3 separate regions of the Homo sapiens genome follow, and regions 2 and 3 are each linked to region 1. Evidence: promoter capture Hi-C in 16 types of primary human blood cells and fetal thymus (Javierre and others, 2016). All regions are on one chromosome and are shown on one strand. Each heading gives the region's core, a stretch centred on a gene start or on the middle of the fragment in contact. The rest is flanking DNA. Distances are from core to core; before and after follow the strand shown. Region 1 holds the start of PRRG3 (proline rich and Gla domain 3). Region 2 has its middle 16 kb from the start of GPR50-AS1. Region 3 has its middle 39 kb from the start of GPR50-AS1.

What was found. Contacts are between HindIII fragments. The CHiCAGO score rates a contact against its expected background, and 5 or more counts as called.
Region 2: a contact is called between a fragment that was not itself captured here and the fragment with the promoter of PRRG3 in region 1, in 1 of 17 cell types (total CD4 T cells). The highest score is 6.0, in total CD4 T cells.
Region 3: a contact is called between a fragment that was not itself captured here and the fragment with the promoter of PRRG3 in region 1, in 1 of 17 cell types (activated CD4 T cells). The highest score is 5.4, in activated CD4 T cells.

The regions. Positions count from the first base shown.
Region 1 is chrX:151,692,906-151,697,318 of GRCh38, reverse strand. PRRG3 (proline rich and Gla domain 3) reads right to left here and starts at 1,861. Exons shown (of 4, transcript NM_001372163.1): 1 at 1,775-1,861. The HindIII fragment of the contact is 4,373 bases long and covers 1,300-4,413 here.
Region 2 is chrX:151,191,701-151,196,113 of GRCh38, reverse strand. No RefSeq gene overlaps it. Among named protein-coding and RNA genes, the nearest start is that of GPR50-AS1, 16 kb to the right of the region's middle. The HindIII fragment of the contact is 8,683 bases long and covers 1-4,413 here.
Region 3 is chrX:151,214,500-151,218,912 of GRCh38, reverse strand. No RefSeq gene overlaps it. Among named protein-coding and RNA genes, the nearest start is that of GPR50-AS1, 39 kb to the right of the region's middle. The HindIII fragment of the contact is 5,772 bases long and covers 1-4,413 here.

The DNA.
Region 1 (4,413 bases), core at 612-3,111:
ATGCTGCGGTGCATGCCTGTAGTCCCAGCTACTCTGGAGGCTGAGACAGGGGAATCGCTTGAACCAGAGAGGCGGAGATTGAAGTGAGCTGAGATTGCGCCACTGCACTCCAGCCTGGGTTACAAAGCCAGAAAGAAAGAAAGAGAGAAAGAGAGAAAGAGAGGGAGAGAGGGAGAGAGGGAGGGAGAGAGGGAGGGAGGGAGGAAGGAAGGGAGGGAGGGAGGAAGGAAGGAAGGAAGGAGAAGGGAAGGGAAGGAGGAAGGAAAGAAGGAGAAGGGAAGGGGAGGGAGGAAGGAAGGAAGAAAGAAAGAAAGAGAGAAAGAAAGAGAGAAAGAGAGAAAAGAAAGAAAAGAAAATTAAAGGTAAAACAGCAGATCTGACATCTATTTGTGGAAACGCCACATCAAGGGGCTTTCTCTTTTGAACCCTGCAACAATCTCCCTCAAAACTATCAACATGTGAATTTGTCAACAGATGGCCTGCCTTGTGAGACAGTTGGCCCTCAATGTTTGTCAGAACCAAGATGGAATATGATCTCAAAATTCTGCTTGCATTATGGATACCTGAGCTTTATGTGGTGAGGGTGTGGATATAGTATGCCTCATGGCAAGGATTTTTTGCTTGAAGAAAAATGGAGCTGTTGTATCTGGGTTTGAGAAGAATGCATATAGTCTTAATAAGGGAAGAGAGAAAAATATGCTTATCAAAGGAAACTGCAGTGGTTTTTTAAAAAAATGGAGAAAAATTTACATAATAGATTACATATATCCATCTTTTGTCCCCCACACACCTAGCCTTGGTCAAAGGTGGCTATATGTCACACCTATCATAGACCCGAATACATGTTATCCTGACGCACCTGCTAAAGTCACCAGTTCATTTTTAAGCTTCAGTCGAGCCAGGAACACCCCCAAAACAGTTCCCATGGCATGGCCCACTCCATTAGCAATTCTGTAGCCACCTTCACTGCTGCTGCTGCCTGCCACGAGGCCTCTTCCCCCTCCCTCCCCAAAATGTAGCGCCTGCTTCTTCCCCTATAAATACACCATCAGTAGACAGTTACTATGGCAACAATAAGGAAGCAATCGTGAGGGCTCCACGACAAAGAATGATGCTGCAGCCACACATGTATATGTCCCCCATGCCCCTGGTGGATACTGTAAAGCTGACTGTAGGCGGAAGGAATTTTTAACCCACTCCCCGCAGGAACACAGCTGAATCCTGACAGCCTGGAAAGGAAGGAAGGCAGGGAACTGGCCACCACAAAGACCTTGCTTAACTCCACCCCAGACTGAAGCTTCTGAATCTCAGGCCTCTGGGACACAACTCCCAAAGTCCCTCACATGAAGCCTGGTGACCACCAGAGCACCTGGTGTCCCAAGACATGGCCTCCAAACCACTTCTCCAAACCCTAGACTTTATTTCCATCCCTCAGAACTGATCGCCAGGAAAGGGTTCTCCAAATCGCATGACTCATCGACCCACCCAGTGACACGACAACTCCCAAATTATGCTCAAACTCAAACTCTGGGGCCCCCTTGTCCCTTTCCACTCAGGCCAGCCCTGAAAGTGCCTGTCCTCGCCCACCTTCGCTGGACACCAGCGCCCTGACCCAGCAACACTCTTCTCCCGGAGCTGTTCAATACGCCCCATCCCCTTGGCCCGGACAGGCCTCTAGATCTTCCCTCCTCAACAATGCCCTGCACCCAGCTCGTTGGCCCTGGATACCGAACCGTGCCCTCGGGACTGGGACACCCAACCCAAATGGCCTCACCGTTCTCCGGGCCCAGAAGGCGGCCGCCCTGTTTGCGCACGCAGCCCGCCACCTCGCTGCTGCGCCTCTTCCAGCAGGGGCCCTGTCCCCGCCCACCTGCTCCCCGTCGGCCAAGCCCCCCGGTCCGGCCCAGCCGTCTCCTCCCTCCCTTCCTCCCCTCCCCGCTGCCCTCCCACCGCCCCGGGCACCCTGTCGCCCGCCCCTCCAGGGCCGAAGTGCGCCTGGAACCCCCGCCCCTCGCAGCCGGGCGCCCAGGCCCGGCCCATTACCTCGGCACCCCCCTGCCTGCCCCTGCTTTCCTCTGGGGGCTCCGCAGCTGCCCGCCCCCCACACCCCGCCGTTCCAGGGCTGGCCTCGCGCCCCGCGCCTCGCGCGCCACGACCGCAGTGCCCCGATCGCCAGGCCGCAATCGTCGCGCTGCCCCGCGCACCGGGCCGCCGGCCGCCTGGCCGAGTGGAGGAAGGAGGGGTGGGGGCGACGGAGTGGGCCGAGGGGGTTGGGAGAGCGGGCGGGCAAGCCGGGCCGGAGGGGCGGCGGCGCGCACCGAGCACCGCGCGCCCGCGCCCCACTCTGCCGGCGCCGCCCCTGCCCCCGCCCGTGCCGCCGGGGGGCGGGGCCTGACTGGCGGGCCTGGGGCACACAGAGGACCCTTGGTCAAAGCCCTGGTCCAGTCGTGACCCAAGGCGTGGGCCCTCGGAAGATACGGCGTAGCAGGGAGCTCCGGCGGCCGCTCCCAAGGCCCGCGCGCCAGGCGTCCCTGCGCAGCCCAACCCGCGTCCTGTCCCCACCCCCCGGGCTCACCTGCCATTCAGGCCCGCCGGGCTCCTGGGGCCAACGAAAAGAGAGGGGGGCTAGCCTGCAACCTAGGCCTGCCTTGCCAGGGATCCACAGGGCCCTCAGAAGAAGGACCGAGTCGAGGCCGCGTTCCGCCAATGACTGGGTGACCTTGGCTTCTTCACTTACCTACCCCCACCCTGCCCCGGGAAGGCAGGCTTCTCTCCTGCAAAGTCCGAGAAATGGGGAGAATTCTGCCTCCCTCGCGAGGCTGCAGCGATTTGAAGGAGGAAATGGGTTTGGAAAACTCTAAGGCTCAGTAAGGGGAGAAGGAATCTTCTGCGACTGCAAGGAGCGCTAGATGGGGGCTCCTTCGGAGGCCGCACTGTGAGAAGTTCAGCATGGCAGGACAAGACGCATAGCAGAGATTACACTAGTCCAGGAGGAACCACATGACAGGTCCACTGCTAAGAGAGGGGCAAAGGGGTTCCGGGTGGGCTGAGGTTCTGGGTCTAGGAAAGCCTCCCTCGGAGAAGGGGATGCTGGGTTTTTAGGGTTCCTTTTTGTTCTCTGCACATCTAGAACCCGGCCAGGCACTGGGGTTGGCGTCCTCTTCCTCCCTCCACCCCAAGTGTTGCTTTTGATGGGAATGAGTCTCAGAAGGCGGTTCCAGAACCACTCCCACCCCTATCCCAGGGCGGGTATTAGCAACCTGCCTTGCCAGGGGGCGGAAGAGGGGTGGGCGAAGGCCTTCATTGCCACCGGCCGCCTCCCCTCCAACCCCCAGGGCCTGGCTCCCCTAGCTCCCCCGATGCCTGCCTCTACACTTCTCTCCCCGCATGGTGCTTTCCCTTCCATTTCTGCCTCCTGTTAGAGTTCTTCCCTAGCTTGCTTGCTATTTCACGGCTGCAGGAATCTTCCTTACCCACGACAGCTCTTCTATGGCCTTCCCCCCATGCCTCCGGAGCCTGTGGGGCAGAATTCCACAGACTCTTCTGGAACTAACCTCTTGAGTTTCCTAGCCCACCAGCATGTTCCCATCGTGATCTTAACACCGCATAGACCCTTGTGCACTTGACTGTTAAAAAAGCAGCTCTTCCAGTATGTGCACAAGGGTCTATGGCTTCTGCCCTCCTTCTGGCACTCCCACTTTAGCTTCTGGCTCCAGCCACATGAGGCTACTTCTACTTCCCACTGCCCAGAATGCCTTTCCTCCCACTGTGGACCTGGAGCACTTGCATTCATTCTTCCCACACAGTGCGCATGACATCTCTACTGTGAGGTCTTGCAGGATCCTTCCTGCACCCCAGTCCGCCATTCCACTCTCAGGACTATCTGCAGAGACTATGAACATGGGGGCCTCGGTGGATAGCAAGGTGGGGGAGGAGGAATAGCAGTGCCTCTGGAGCGTAGTGCCTGCTGCACCTCTTGGTGGTACTACATAGTAGGCTCTATTATCTCCAGCAAGTGTTTGACCTCTCTGCATCTCGGTTTCCTTACCTTTCAGATGAGAATGATGCTAACAGTGCCTGCCTCAAAGCGTTGCTAAGCGGGTAGTGGAGCTAATCACATAGAATGTGCCTGGCGCTTAAGTGTGAGCTTAATGCACATCAGCTGGCCTGCATCCAGCTACCTTGTGTTCATTTGGTAGCTCACTTACGTGCACACTTGCCTCCTCTCTTGGGGCCAGGGACCTTGTCTCTTCCTGTGTCCCTACCATCTCGCACAGAACCTCATCCACAGCTGGTGCTCTCTAGAGACTTGTCAAGCTGAGGCTGGAGGGGCTGGGGCTGAGAAGGCCTCCATTGCCTTCTTACCTGCCCCCATTTCTGTTCCGGCAGAGCCGGAATTGTGGGTGTATGACC
Region 2 (4,413 bases), core at 626-3,125, 500 kb after region 1:
AAGGAGCTATATAAATGGCCAACGGGCATGTGAAAAAAATGCCCAACATCACAAATCCTTATGGAAATTCAAACCAAAACCACACGAGATATATCTTACCCCAGCTAAAATGGCTTTATCAAAAAGAGAGACAACAACAGATGCTGGTGAGGATGTGGAGAAAGGGATACCCTCATATACTGTTGGTGAATGTAAATTAGTACAGTCACTATGAAAAACTATATGGAGGTCCTTCAAAAAAAATAAAACTAGAGCTACCATATGATCCAGCAATTCCACTACTGGGTACACATCCAAAAGAAAAGAAATCAATATATTGAAGAGATATTTACACTCCCATGTTTACTGCAGCAGTATTTACGATAGCCAAAATATGGAATCAACCTAAGTGCCCATCAAAGGATGAATGGATAAGAAAATGTGGTATAGATACACAATGAAATATTATTCAGCCATAAAAAGAATGAAATCCTGTCATTTGCAGCAACATGGATGGAATTGGAGGTCATTATGTTAAGTGAAATAAGCCAAACACAAAAAGACAAATATTGCATGTTCTCATTCATATGCGGGAGCTAATAAACATGGATCTCATAAAGATAGAGGGTAGAATTGTGGTTACCAGAAGCCAGGAAGGATAGAAGGGAGGGAGGATAAAAAGAGGTTGATTAATGGGTACAAATGTACAATTTGAAAGAAGAAACAAGACCTAGTGTTTGAAAGATCAGTAGAGTGACTATAGTTTACAATGACCTATTGTATATTTCAAAATAGCTAAAAAAGAATAATTCAAATGTTTCTAAGATAAAAAAGACAAATATTTAAGGTGATGGATATCCCAATGTACTGTTTTGATCTTTACAAATTATATGAATTATTTAATTATCACATGTACTCTGAAAATATGTACAACTATTCTGTATAAGTAAAATTTTTGAAATTAAATAAAATCAGAACTACTTGTGGCTCTAAAAAAAAAAAAAAAATCTTTGCCCATTCCTATGTCCAGAATGGTATTGCCTAGGTTTTATTCTAGGGTTTTTATAGTTTTTGGTGTTACACTGAAGTCTTTAATTAATCTTGAGCTATTATAATTTTTGTTTAGGTTGTAAGGAAGGGGTCTAGTTTCAGTCTTCTAGATATGGCTAGCCAGTTGTCCCAGCACTATTTATTGAATAGGGAGTTCTTTCCCCATTGCTTATTTCTGTCGGGCTTGTCAAAGATCAGATAGTTGTAGGTGTGTCGCCTTATTTGGGGGTTCTCTATTCTGTTCCACTGATAACCCATTATTTGAAAGTGATGACAACTTAAGTCTGATTGCAAAAACAAACAAACATGCAATGATAAAACTCATAAAATTCTACATTTTAACTTCATCTCTCCTGCTTTTTAACTTTTTGTTTTTTCTATTTATATATTATTATACTTTCTACGTCTTCAAAACTTGTTCAAAACTTTTGATAGGTTCATCTTTTATTCTCTGACTCAAGATGTGAGTAGTTTACACACTACAATTATAGTGGCATAATATTCTGTATTTGTCTGTGTACTTACTGCTATCAGAGAGTGTTGTACCCTCAGATGATTGCGTATTGCTCATCAATGTCCTTTTCTTTCAGATTGAAGAACTCCCTGTAGCATTTCTTTTTTTTTTTTTTTTTACTTTAATTTTTAATTTTTGTGGGCACCTGATAGGTATATCCATGTATGGGGTATGTGAGATGTTTTGATACAGGAATACAATATGTAATAATCACATCAGAGTAAATGAGGTATCCATCACCTCAAGCATTTATCCATTCTTTGTGTTACAAACAATCCAGTTATACTCTTTTAGTTATTTTTAAATGTACCACTAAATTATTTTTCACTATAGCCCTCCTCTTGTGCTAGCAAATACTAAGTCTTATTCATTCTTTCTATTTTTTTTGTGCCCATTAACTCTCCCCACTTTCCCTCACCACCCACCACTACCCTTCCCAGCCTCTGGTAACCATCCATTTACTCTCTATCTCCATGAGTTCAATTGTTTCAAATTTTAGGTCCCCAGATTATTGAGAACATGAAATGTTTGTCTCTCTGTGCCTGGCTTATTTCACTTCATATTATGACCTCCAGTTCCATCCATGTTGTTGCAAATGACAGGATCTCATTCTTTTTTATGGCTGAATAGTACTCTACTGTATATATGTGCCACATTTTCTTTATCTATTCATCTGTTGATGGACACATTGCTTCCAAATCTTGACTATTGTGAATAGTGCTGCAATAAACATGAGAGTACAGATACATGTTTGATATACTGATTTCCTGTCTTTTGGTTATATACCTAGGAGTGAGATTGCTGGATTGCAAGGTAATTCTATTTTTAGTTTCTTGAGGGACCTCAAAACTGGTCTCCACAGTAGTTGTACTAATTTACCTTTTCACCAACAGTGTACAAGGGTTCCCTTTTCTCCATATTCTTGCCAGCACTTGTTATTGCCTGAGTTTTGGATACTTTAGCATTTCTTATAGGACTGGTCTGGTATTGATAAAATCCCTCAGCCTTTGTGTGTCTGGGAAAGTATTTCTCCTTCATGTTTCAAGGATATTTTTACTGAATATACTATTCTAGGATAAAAGATTTTTTCCTTTAGCAGTTTAAATATATCATGCCCCTCTCTCCTGGCCTATAAGGTTTCCACTGAGAAATCTACTGCCAGACATATTGAAACTCCTTTTGTGTTTGTATGTTTGTTCATTTTTACTTTTCTCTTGCTGCTTTTAGGATGCTTTCTTTATCCTTGACCTTTGGGGCCAGGCACAATGGCTCATGCCTGTAATGCCAACATTTTGGGAGGCCAAGTCAGGTGGATTCCTTGAGCCCAGGAGTTTGAGACCAGCCTGGGCAACACAGCGAAACCACATCTCTACAAAAACAAACAAAAAAAGCCCACAATATATTCTTGACCTTTGGCAGTTTGAATATTACATGTCTTGACATAGTCTTCTGGGGGTTAAATTTGTTTGGTATTCTATAACCTTCTTGCATTTGAATATTGACATTTTTCTCTAGGTTTAAAAAGTTCTCATTATTATCTCTTCAAATAATCTTTCTATTCCACTCTCTCTCTCTCTACCGCCTCTTTAAGGCCAATACTCTTAGATTTGCTCTTTTGTGGCTACTTTCTAGATCCTATAGTCATACTTTATTATTTTGTATTCTGTTTTTTTTTTATTCCTCTGACTTTGTGTTTTTAAATAGACTGTCTTCAAGCTCGCTAATTGTTTCTTCTGCTTGATCAGTTCTGCTGTTGAGAAACTCTGATGTATTCTTCAAGTTGTCAATTGAATTTTTCAGCTCCAGAATTTCTGCTTAATTTTGTTTAGTTACTTGCATCTCTTTGTTAAATTTATCTGATAGGATTTTGAATTTCTTCTCTATGTTATCTTGAATTGTGTTGAGCTTCCTCCAAACAGCTATTTTGAATTCTCTGTCTGAAAGGTCCCATATCTGTGTCACTCTGGAATTGGTCACTGGTGCCTTATTTAGCTTGTTTGGTGAAGTCCTGTTTTCCTGAAAGGTCTTCATGTCTGTGGGTATTCATCAATGTCTGGGCATTGAAGAGTTAAGTATTTCTTCTAATTTTTGCAGTCTGGGCATGTTTGCACCCATTCTTCTTGAGAAGGCTTTCCAAGTATTCAAAGATGATTGAGTGTTATAATCTAAGTGTTTGGTCATTGCAGCCATATGTGCATTAGAGGGCACTCTAAACCCAGTAATTCTGTGATTTTTGCAGACTTGTAGAGGTGCCACCTGGACAGTGTTGGGTAAGACCTGAGAGAATTCCATGGATTACCAGGTAGTCTCTTGTTCTCTTCCATTTTCCCAAATAAATAGAGTCTCTCTCTGTGTGCTATGTTGCATGGATTTGGGAGAGAGGTGATGCAAGTACTCCCGTGGCTACCACTGCTGGGACTGTACTGGGTCACACCTGAAGCCAGCACAGGACGGGGTCTTGTCCTAGGCCTGGGTGGCGGCTATTTCCTGCCTATCATTGATGTTTATTCAAGGCTCAAGGGCTCTTTAGTCAGCAGGTGAAGAATAGTGCCAGGACTGGATCTTTCTTTTGGGTAGTGGGCTCCCTTCTGGCCCAGGGCAGGTCTAGAAATATCCTTCAGGAGCTGAGGCCTGGAATCAGGGTCTTTAGGGGTCTGTTTGGTATTTTATTTTACTGTGGCTCAGTTGGTACCCAAGTTGCAAGGCAAAGTCCATTTTACTCTTCCCTCTCCTTTCCTCAAGCAGAAGAACTCTCTCCCCATGGCCACTAGAGCTGGGAATGTGCTGGGTCACACCTAAAGCCAGCATGGTACTGGGTCTTGCCCAAGGCCCGTGATGACTGCTGCCTGGCTACTACTGATGTTTATTCA
Region 3 (4,413 bases), core at 541-3,040, 480 kb after region 1:
AGCCAGGTGTGGTGGCATGTACCTGTAGTCCCAGCTAGTCTGGAGGTTGAGGTGGGAGAATCGCTTGAACCTGGGAGGCAGAGGTTGCAGTGAACTGTGATTGTGCCACTACACTCCAGCCTGGGTGACAGAGCAAGACCCTATCTCAAAAAAAAAAAAAAAAAAAAAATTCAATCTGAAGACTAAATATAATGGTCCATATTTGTTCAATGCTGTTCTAGGCATATAGAAAATATCTAATAAGTTTAGCTATTGCTGCTGTTCTCTTAGGCTAAACTGGTTTGATTAATCTTAATATAATTTACTATGAAATACTATGCACAGTTGATATTCAACATTCTCTAAGCAGATCTGGTTTCAAGTTGCACAACTTTCCAGCTTTGTGACTCTAGACAAGTTTCTTAACCTTTCTTGGCCTCAATCTCCTTCTTGTTAAATGGGAGTAATAATATCAACCCAGCAATGTTTTGGATAAGAAATAAGAGAAGTCAAGTGCCTGAAGTGGTGTCTGTCACATAGTAGGATCTTAATAAGTGATAAATTAAACATAAAGCAATATTATTGGTTTTAGGGGATTCTCTCTCATTTATCTTTGTATTTCCCATAGACCCCACCTGCCTAGAACGGTCTTACAGTTGATAGTAAATACTGATCAAATCTGTGGTAACTGTTTTCTGCTTGACATTTTTCTTTTATTTTTTTTCTTCTAGTCTGCCAAAGGCTGTTAATCTTCATTTTAAAAGTATCATTTAAATGGTTAGAGCAGCTTCTCCTTGCTTAATGTTTATTTTGCTTAATCTCTCTCTCTCTCTTATTTTTTTTTACTTACAAACAAACAATAACCCATGCTTCATAATACATAACACTTTCTTGTAAAATTTCTTGAGAACTCCCCCTATCTGCACTCCCAAGCCCTTATAAGAGTTTCATTCAGTAATAGAATCTCAGTCCCTATCTGGCTTGACTGTGATGAGAATTACCCAGGCTGCTGAACCTATTCCAAAATTGTTGCTGATCTCCAGAACTTCCACCAGAATTAAGAACAGTCAATTAACAACTTGGTCAAACATGTTGGATTTAATCATGGTGAATCATAGCCACTGAAAAGACATTTAATTTGATCTGAAATACTTTCACAAGAATATCAAATCTCAGGCATAATTTGTGATTAGCAACTCTATAAAAATAAAGAGTAATTGGAAATTTTAAAAGACTAAGTGTCAAAGGACCAGACACCCAAAAGTGTAACTGCCAATTCTGTTGATGAGTCTTAGGGAAATAGGCATTCTCATTGCTACTGAGAATGCAAACCGGTACAACTCTTTGAGGAGGAATTTGGCAACAGCTAACATAACCTTTCAACTCAGAAATCCCAGTTCTAAGAAACTATCCTCGAATATGAACTTTTTTTACAATTCAAAAATACATATGGCCAAAGTTATTCATTGCAGCATAGTTTGTAATTGCAAAATATTGGAAACAACTTAAATGCCTGAACATAGAAAAGTGGTTAAATAAATTATGCAACATCAGCTCAGTGGCATTCCATACAGCTGTAAAAAAAAAAAAAACAAAAAAGAATAAGGAAGATCTCTATGAACTGATGTGGAGTGGGTCCATGACATACTACCCAAATGAAAAAAATCTAAGTACAGGAGACCGCTTCTAGAATGGCAGAGTAAGGAATTCCAAAAATGTGTTTCTTAATAAAAGCAATGAAGTCTTTTTTTATGGTGAAAAAAAAAGTTTTTTTCACCATAAAAACTGTGAAAAATCAAATTTTTTAGAACTCCAGAAATTAACCTAAGGCTAGCAATAATCCACAGAGCGTTTACTCAAGAAAAAAATCACTACATCTTGGTAAGAACAGTGAGTTTCATGGTGCTTTAACTTGCCCTACTTCCATTCCTCTCCCTTAGTCCCATAGTAACCTTAAAAACCAACAGTGTCCCAATAATAGTAGCTGTGAAAATCAGTAACCTAGTAGCCACTAGAAAGGGCATAGAGGTTTACAAGCATCCAAAGGTCCCATCCCCAGAGAAATTCCAATTGTCAGCTATTCTGATTGTCCGATAACTTGCAGAAAAGTTCCATGCTCAGGAGTTGTCATTCTTTGAGCTGACTCAGAGCTTACTCTGTGTTAATAGGCTTATCCCCAAGGCATTTGTCGAAAACAATCATTGGCAATTAATATCGGAACTGCCTGAGGCTACATTATCAGTTGGGATTAATAAGAAGCTGACCAAAAAACTTGAGAGGAAAAACTGGGGAATGAGATGACCATAGAGGGCTTTAAAAAGCTCCAAAATGTTCCTGGAAATCTGGAAGACCTCACATACGCCTAAGGCTGTGCATATGCCCATGATTGTGTACATGCTTAGGAAAGATCCAAGAAGAAGAACAAAGTCAGAAGATTTACACTATCACACTTCAAGACATACCATAAAGCTACAGTGATCAAGGTAGTGTGGTATTGATGAAAGAACAGACAAATAAATGAATGAAAGAGAATGGAGAGCCCAGAAAGAGTTCCACACAAATATAGTCAACTTATTTTTGACAAAGGAGCAAAGGTAATTCAACGGAAAAAAGCATTCTTTTTAACAAATGGTGCCGGAACAACTGTACAACCACATGTAAAAAGATTTTTTAAAGCCCAAAAACAAATAAACAAAGAGCCCCACAAGAATCTAGAGACAGAATTTACACCTTTTCCCCAAATTAAATAGATATAATTAAAATAGACTATAAGTGTTAAATGTAAAATGCAAGGCTATAAAACTTCTAGAAGATAGCAAAGGAGAAAATCTGAGTGACCTTCACTTTGGTAATGACTTTAACAAAAGGTCAATCTATAAAAGAAAAAAATGATAAATTAAACTTCATTAAATTCAAAACTACTCTGTTAAGTGAACGAAAAGACAAACAACAGAGTAGGAGAAAATATTTGCAAAACATATATCTGATTAAGGACTGTATCCAAAATGTACAAAGAACTCAAAACTCAACAACAAGAAAACATACAAACCAATTTAAAAATGGGCCATAGATTTGAACAGATGCCTCATCAAAGAAGAGGTACAGATAGCAAAATAAACATATTAAAAGATGCTCAACATCATATGCCATTAGGAATTCACTTTTATTTGTAAAATAGTTTTGCAGCATATAAGTTTCTTGCTTGAACAGCCTTTTTCTTTTAGCTACAGTAGTTCTCCTTTATCTGCAAGGGATGCATTCCAAGACCCCCAGCCTGAAACTGTGGATAGTAACAAACCTTATATATAGTTTCTTCTATACATACATGACTATGGTGAAGTTTAATTTATAAATTAGGCATAGTGACAGTCAGAATAACAATTATTAAAAAGTCAAGAAACAACAGATGCTGGTGAGGCTGTGGGGAAATAGGCATGCTTTTACACTGCTGGTGGCAATGTAAATTAGTTCAACCATTGTGGAAGACAGTGTGGTGATTCCTCAAGGACCTAGAACCAGAAATACCATTTAACCCAGCAATCTCATGACTGAGTATATACCCAAAGGAATATAAATCATTCTACTATAATGATACATGCACACATATGTTCATTGCAGCACTATTTACAATAGCAAAGACATGGAAACTACGCAAATGCCCATCAATGATAGACTGGATAAAGAAAATGTGGTACATATACACCATGGAATACTATGCAGCCATAAAAAGGAATGAGATCATGTCCTTTGCAAGGACATGGATGAAGCTGGAAGCCATCATCCTCAGCAAAGTAACACAGGAACAGAAAACCAAACACCACATGCTCTCACTCATAATTGGGAGTTGAACAATGAGAACACTTGGACACAGGGAGGGGAACAACACACACTGGGGCCTGTCAGGGGGATGGGGAGGGAGAGAGAGCATCAGGACAAATAGCTAATGCATGCAGGGCTTAAAATCTAGATGATAGGTTGATAGGTGCAGCAAACCACCATGGCACACATATACCTATATAATGAACCTGTACATTCTGCACCTGTATCACAGAACTTAAAGTAAAATTTTAAAAAATAAATTAGCCATAGTAAGAGATTAACAACAATAATAAAATGAACAATTATAACAATATACTGTGTAAAAGTTATGCAAATGTGGTCTTTTTCTCTCTCTGTCTCTCTCAAAACAGCTTATTGTACTATATTACCTGTTTTTGAATTAAAGTTGACCATAGATAACTGAAACTGAGGAGAGTAAAACCATGGATAAGGGGGGACTACTGAATGTTATCCCACTGCTTCTTGGCTTTGTGGTTTCTTATATGAAATAAGCTGTCGATCTTATGAGAATGACTTGTATGAGATGCATTGTTTTCTTCTTGATGCTTGCAATATTCTTTCTTTGTCTTCTGACAGTTTGAGTATGGTGTGTCA